Linked DNA regions of Homo sapiens: region 2 is linked to region 1. The links are contacts of gene promoters, found by promoter capture Hi-C in human tissues and cell types (Jung and others, 2019). All regions are on one chromosome and are shown on one strand. The core of a region is centred on a gene start or on the middle of the fragment in contact, and the rest is flanking DNA. Distances in the headings are between cores, read along the strand shown. Region 1 holds the start of RTKN (rhotekin). Region 2 has its middle 20 kb from the start of BOLA3.

Evidence for each region. Contacts are between HindIII fragments. The study calls those that stand out against the background at their distance.
Region 2: a fragment that was not itself captured here is called in contact with the fragment with the promoter of RTKN in region 1 in 1 of the 25 tissues and cell types used here (thymus).

What each region holds. Positions count from the first base shown.
Region 1 is chr2:74,440,036-74,443,389 of GRCh38, reverse strand. RTKN (rhotekin) reads left to right here and starts at 1,453. Exons shown (of 12, transcript NM_001015055.2): 1 at 1,453-1,684. The coding sequence starts at 1,574. RefSeq lists silencers at 1,363-1,442, 1,753-1,812, 2,528-2,837 and an enhancer at 3,265-3,354. The HindIII fragment of the contact is 13,295 bases long and covers 1-3,354 here.
Region 2 is chr2:74,126,576-74,130,103 of GRCh38, reverse strand. It overlaps a transcript of TET3 not described here. Among named protein-coding and RNA genes, the nearest start is that of BOLA3, 20 kb to the left of the region's middle. The HindIII fragment of the contact is 4,351 bases long and covers 1-3,528 here.

The sequences.
Region 1 (3,354 bases), core at 204-2,703:
GATTGAACCCAGGAGGCAGAGGTTGCAGTGAGTCGAGATCATGCCATTGCACTCCAGCCTGGGTGACAGAGTGAGACTCTGTCTTAAAAAAAAAAAATTAAAATAAATAAATAAATAAATAAATAAAAATAAAAAATTATACATATTTGTAATGCTTTTTAAGAGATGGGGTCCCACTATGTTGCCCAGGCTGGACTTGAACTTTCGGGCTCAAGCAATCCTCCCACCTTAGCCTCCCGAGTAGCTGGGACTACAGGTGTGCACCACCATGCCAGGCCAATTTGTGTGTGTGTGTGCGTGTGTGTGTGTGTTTTGTTGAGACAGGGTTTCATGTTGCCCAGGCTGGTCTCCAACTCCTGAGCTCAAGAGCGATCAGTCCCCCTTGGCCTCCCAAAGTGCTAGGATTACAGGCTTGAGCCACTGCACCCAGCCATCTTTTTTTTAGACGTAGTTTCGCTCTTGTTTCCAAGGGTGGAGTGCAATGGTGGGGTCTCAGCTCACCACAACCTCTGCTTCCCGGGTTTAAGCGATTCTCCTGCCTCAGCCTCTCAAGTAGTTGGGATTACCGGCATGTGCCACCATGGCCGGCTAAATTTTGTATTTTTAGTAGAGATGGGGTTTCTCCATGTTGGTCAGGCTGGTCTCGAACTCCCAACCTCAGGTGATCCACCCTCCTAGGCCTCCCAAAGTGCTGCGATTACAGGCGTGAGCCACCGCGCGCAGCTGCTCTTTATGACTGCAAATATGGGGCACTTGCCTTGTGCCAGGCACTATGCTGGGCATTTTACCCTCATTCTTATAGGTAATCCTCATAGCAACTTGAGGAGTGGAGATAATTACAGTATTCCCACTGAACAAATGAGAAAACTGAAGCTCAGAAAGGCCAGTGACTGGACCAAGTTAATGATTGCACGGTTAGTTAGTGACAGAGCTGGGGTTTCACGACGTGTTTAAGCACCGCCCCATCAGTTGTGGCCACTAGGCTTAGGCGGATAGCCTCGCAGAGGAGCCTAGGTGGGGAGGGGGACGAAGAAGGAACATTTGGGACTGTGGGATGTTGAAATGGTCTCTTCGGAGGCTGCCGGGATTGAAACTGGGCAAGGTCCCAGGGCCCGAGTAGAGCCAGAGCGTGCTACGCGGCGATCCCTGAGCCACGGGGTTTTCAGCGCCCGGGAAGCCAGGCTTGCCAGGTTGGGGCGGCTGGCGGGGCAGGGCTTCTCGGTCCGTCCCAAGTCCAGGTAGGCGCTCGCGACCCGCGCGGGCAGGGAGAACGCGCTCCCACAGTGCTCGCGAGGTGCAGTGCGCCCCTGGGGGCTCCGGGGCCGTCGGGCCAGGTCGGCTTGGCGCCCAGGGACTGGCCGGACGGGCTGGGCCTTTGGCGGGGGTGGAAGAGGAGGTTGCCGCGCCCTGCCCGGCCCAGGTGTCGTCTCCGGGGGCGGGGTTTGGAGCCCCGCAGCGGGAGATTCCCGGCCGGACTGGCGGACGAGCGTCGAGAGACAGAAGCCGAGGAGAGGAGGCTAAGCCGGGCGGCGCGGGGAGCGCACTGAGCAGGCAAAGTCGCAGGGCCGCCAGCATGTTCTCCCGAAACCACCGGAGCCGGGTCACCGTGGCCAGGGGCTCCGCCCTGGAGATGGAGTTCAAACGCGGCCGCTTCCGACTCAGCCTCTTCAGCGACCTGCCCGAGGTGAGAGACTCGCGTCCCTGCCTTCCCCTTCCGCGGCTCCCGGGGGCAGCCCCAGCCACCTCGGCCTCCTTCCCTCGCCCGCGTGCACGCCGAGGGGCGGAGACGCACGGTCTGGGTACAAACCCGACGGAGTTGTTGACTTAAAAAGTAAGGTGTGGACGGTCTGCATTTTCATCGGATCCATGCTGCCCATTCCGCGGCCTGGTTAGGATTATCTGCCTGAGCCTGGAAAAAGCCCGGGTTGGTCTCAATTTGTAGGGCCCCAGCTCGACTCCTAAAATGTGCCTGAACCCCAAAATGTCTTGGGCATCCCCGGGCCAAGGGCGGTGGGCAGCTAGGCGGGCCCCAAGCGCTCGGACTCTTGGCCTGGGCTCCCGCTTGTTCCCCAGTCGCCAGCCCCATCCCACAACCTGTCGCAGCCATCTGGGCCAGCCTCTGTCATCAACCCCGACTTTAGGCCGGGGCCGCTCGCTTCCCCGAAGCCCAATTCAAAGGCTCCTCTATGCCCCTGCAGGGCTTTTAACTCCTTGGGGTTACTTCCCACACGCAAAATTTCCGCCTCCTTTTCTGGGGCCTAAGAGGAGTCCAGCCCCTAGGCTGAGCGTTTCCCCCGTCCGCCGTCCACGCGTTAACCTGTTGGATCCCCACCTGTAACGCCCTAAGGGCTAGGGCGGGGCTGAAGGTGTGTGGTTGAGCGGGGACTGAGAGGGCGAATAGCTACCCCGAAGACTCTTCTGTCCCCAAGGTCAGACTCACACTCGCCCAAGGAGAGCCCAGTTCCAAGCCTTCCCTTCCGGGTCTGGAAAGGGTTAAGTGAGGTGGGCCTTCCTTCCGCCCCCTCTACCTCCCGGCTGGGATTCCAGGCCTGGCTTCTGCCCTTTCCCTCCAGCCTGCCCAGAACAAAGAGGCTCTTTCACACCCTTGTCCCGGCGTCCCGGGCCTTCTCTGACTCAGAAGCTAGTGGACCTGGGGAGAGGGGGCCTTTGTCGCGTCCCCTTGCCCCCAAGCGACTGGGCCCGAGGAACCCGCGTGGGGCCAGCGTGGGGGAGTAAGGGGCGAGGCCCGGGACCAGGGGGAGGGGCCTGTGAGCTGGGGCCGCCCCTGGGATTAGCCCGGCCTTCGGGGACAGCTCGGAGGAGCTGGGGCGGAGCCGCAGGGCCTGGCGGCCGCCGAGTGAAGTGTGACTCCGTGGGCCTGGCGTGGAGGCGGGGGCGCTAGGCTGCAGCTGGCTCGGAATCGGGGCTGGTTTCCTGTCTGGAAGGGAAGGGGCCTGCAGAAGGGAGCGGGGACAGCAGCAGACAGGCACACCCCTGCCTTCCTCTCTCCCTCTCCTCCCTTCTCTGGAAAAGCGAGGTAATTGTGAGCCCAGGGTGGAGCGGGCTGGATGGGGGCCCTGAGTTGGAAGGGGTGGCCCTAGGGCTGGGCTGCTTTGCCAACTCACCCCTTTGTCCCATTCCCTGGGCTCACTCTCCCCTGAGGTCCTCACCTGTGTGGCTCTTTTTCCCAACTTTCTCAAACTAAGCTGGAACCCCTCTCGGGAAGCTCCAACCTCCTGCAAACCCCATGACTCTAGAACCTGCATGAGGCGTCGTTTCCCTGCCCCCTTCCAGTTGTGCCTGCCCCTCACTGCCCTCTCCGCACACAGATTCCCTGTCCACCAGGCCAGGGAT
Region 2 (3,528 bases), core at 800-3,299, 310 kb after region 1:
TTTTTTTTTGAGACAGACTCTTGCTTTGTCTCCCAGGCTGGAATACAGTGGCACAATCTCCGCTCACTGCAACCTCTGCCTCCCGGGTACAAGCCATTCTCCTGCCTCAGCCTCCCAAGTAGTTGGTATTACAGGTGCCTGCCACCAAGCCCGGCTAATTTTTGTGTTTTTTAGTAGAGATGGGGTTTCACCATGTTGGCCAGGCTGGTCTCGAACTCCTGACCTCAGGTAATCCGTCCACCTCGGCCTCCCAAAGTGCTGGGATTATAGGCGTGAGCCACTGCACCTGGCCTAAAGCCAATAAAGCAGCCACCAGGGAATTCAGTGTGAGTGTAACAACAGACTCCTGCCTCTCTCTGGAAGATATAAAAACAAAAAAGTCATTGGGGGCACAAAAGATGATCACATAAAAGAGTAAAACAACTGATGTTCAAGTAATGCCCTTAAGGTTTTTTCAATTCATTTTTTTTTTTGAGACAGGGTCTTGCTCTGTCTCCCAGGCTGGAGCACAGTGGTGCGATCTTGGCTCACTATAGTCTGCCTGCTGGGTTCAAGCAATTCTCCCACCTCAGCCTCCTGAGTAGCTGGGATTACAGGTGCCTGCCACCACTCCTGGCTAATTTTTGCGTTTTTTGTAGAGACGAGGTTTCACCATGTTGGCCAGGCTGGTCTCAAACGCCTGACCTCAGGTGATCTGCCTGCCTCAGCCTCCCAAAGTGCTGGGATTACAGGCATGAGCCACTGTGCCCGGCCGGGTTTTTTTTTTTTTTTTTTTTTTTTTTTTTTTGAGACGGAGTTTCACTCTTGTTGTCCAGGCTGGAGTGCAATGGTGCAATCTCGGCTCACTGCAACCTCTGCCTCCCGGGTTCAAGAGATTCTCCTGCCTCAGCCTCCTGAGTAGCTGGGATTACAGGTATGAGCCATGAGCCACCATGCCCAGCTAAGTTTGTATTTTTAGTAGAGATGGGGTTTCTCCATGTTGGTCAGGCTGTTCTTAAACTCACGACCTCAGGTGATCTGCCTGCCTCAATCCCAGCACTAATCCCAAAGTGCTGGGATTATAGGTGTGAGCCATCATGCCCAGCCTTTTTTTTTTTTTTTTTTTTTTTTTAAATTGAGACAGGATCTCTGTCAACCAGTCTGAAGTGCAGTTGTGCATTCACAACTCACTGCAGCCTTGACTTCTGGGGCTCAGCTGATCCTCCCACCTCAGCCTCCCAAGTAGCTGGGAGTATAGGTGTGCACCACCATGCCTGGCTATTTTATTGTTGTTGTTGTTGTTGTTGTAGAGTTGAGGTCTTACTATGTTGCCCAGGCTGGTCAAATTTCTGCCCTCAAGTGATCTTCCTGCCTTGGCCTCCCAAAGTCTTGGGATTACAAGCATAAGCCCAGCCTTTTTTTTTTTCTAATAGTCTTTATTATTTTTTTATAGTCTTTATTGTTTTAGAACAGTTCTACATTTACAGAAAAATTTTGAAGATAGTGGAGTTCCCATATGTCCCACATCCAGTTTCCCTGATTATTCACATCTTACGTTAGTATGGGGCATTTGTTACAATGAATTTGTTACACTATTATTAAGGAGAGCCCATACTTTATTCAAGTTTCCTTAGTCTTCCCTTAATGTCTTTTTTCTAGGTAGCCCCTCCATGAAACCAGATTACATTTAGTCATCATGTCCCCTTGGCTCCTCCTGGCGGTGGCAGTTTCTCCGATTTTCCTTATTTTTGGTAAGCCTTAGTCCATATAAATATATTCTGGGGGAATTATAGATGGGTTTGACAGAAAGCAATTTTAAAAACAAAAACTACAAAAGAAGAAAGTCACAATCAATTGATTAGTTGAAAGTTACTCTATTCCAAACATCTTGGCAAACATTAAATAATCACATTTCAGAAACTACACCAAGCGAAAAAAAAAATGCCTTGAGTTATGGACATCAGGAAGCAGTAGCTTTGCACAAAAAGGATGGGTTTAAGGAGAACACTGTTTGAGGTGAGGTTTGGTAGATTTACAAACAAGGTTAGAGAAGGCTTCTATACACACATTATTAACCTGTGACATTAAATATATCTCTAAAACTTTATAACTTTTCCTTTTATTTAACAGAACTGTTGGAAGAAAACAAACAATATTTTGACTAGAAATGGAAATTCCTGATGCTTTGGGAATTGTTTCAGTACTTTTTCTAATACTTTAGGCATTGACTAGAAGAACTGAGACTAGAAAATACTCTTGCCTGTTTAGTCAGTATCACGTATCTTCATCTGTTTGTTGTCGCTGCTGAAGCACACACTTAAAATAATCATCATACATTTATGCACACAACCCCTTCTCCCGTGCCCTATACAAACCTATTAAGCTATTTTTCCGAATCAAATTTGCACAACTTTAAAGAAAAAAAAAAAACCTCACAGAATAATGTGTTTTTCAAGGCAGGCATTTTAAAAGCTAATCCCAACTTGCCCCGTTTTAGGCTTTTACAGTGTTTAACTTGCTTTCTTGGGTAGTTAGTCTGGAAATGAGTTCATCATCTGATATAGGATGGCTGGATTTTAATATTTTCTGTCTCCAATTCGTTTGGTTAAATGCCTAAAGCTGGTAGTCTACTAGTGCTGAAGGAAGAGGGGAAGCATTTATGGCTCATTAGAACCAATCCCCATGGTTTCCAGGTCAGCTGATTTTCTCACTACAATACTTAACAGCAAGATGAGAGGCTTTATTAACATCATGTCAATAAAGCCATTAATAATTCAGAAGAAATTTTAATTACAAACTTAAAAGAATTACATAGTTGTAAATTAGTCTGTCACTAAGTAAAGACTACTACATTTCACTTTGGGAGACCTTGTAAAATGTAAGCTAACTCATTGCTGGAACCTTGAAACAGAGGTCATCCGGATCAACAAGCATGAGTCCGTCCCTTCTGCCAGCTTCTGATCCCCTCATTTGAGTTTATGAGATGAGCCAATAATGAATGTAGAGGCAAGCAGCTCATTTTTCTACCTAAAACTAAGTCTCAGCCTGACACTTTTCTTCTGACCCAGTTACAGCTGCTTCTCTGGTGTGTGCTTCAATCCTCTTCACTGGGCACCATTAAACACTGGACTTGGTAGCTGTCTATGCATGTGACCAATTTCACTATCCATCTTCTGGCTTCAGTGCCAATTTTAAGAATGCTAATTCCTACGTGGCCAGATTTCTATAAAGATGGCAAATTATTTTATTCTGGCTAAAATTAATCATATTATTAATATTTTCTAAAGTTAGCGTTTACATTTACTGCTTTAAAAAAATTCCAGGCTGGGTGTGGTGGCTCACGCCTGTAATCCCAGCACTTTGGGAGGCCGAGGCAGGTGGATCATGAGGTCAGGAGATTGAGACCATGCTGGCTAACACGATGAAACCCCGTCTCTACTGAAAAAATACAAAAAATTAGCCGGGAGTGGTGGCGGGTGCCTGTAGTCCCAGCTACGTGGGACACTGAGGCAGGAGAATGGTGTGAACCCGGGAGGCGGAGCTTGCAGT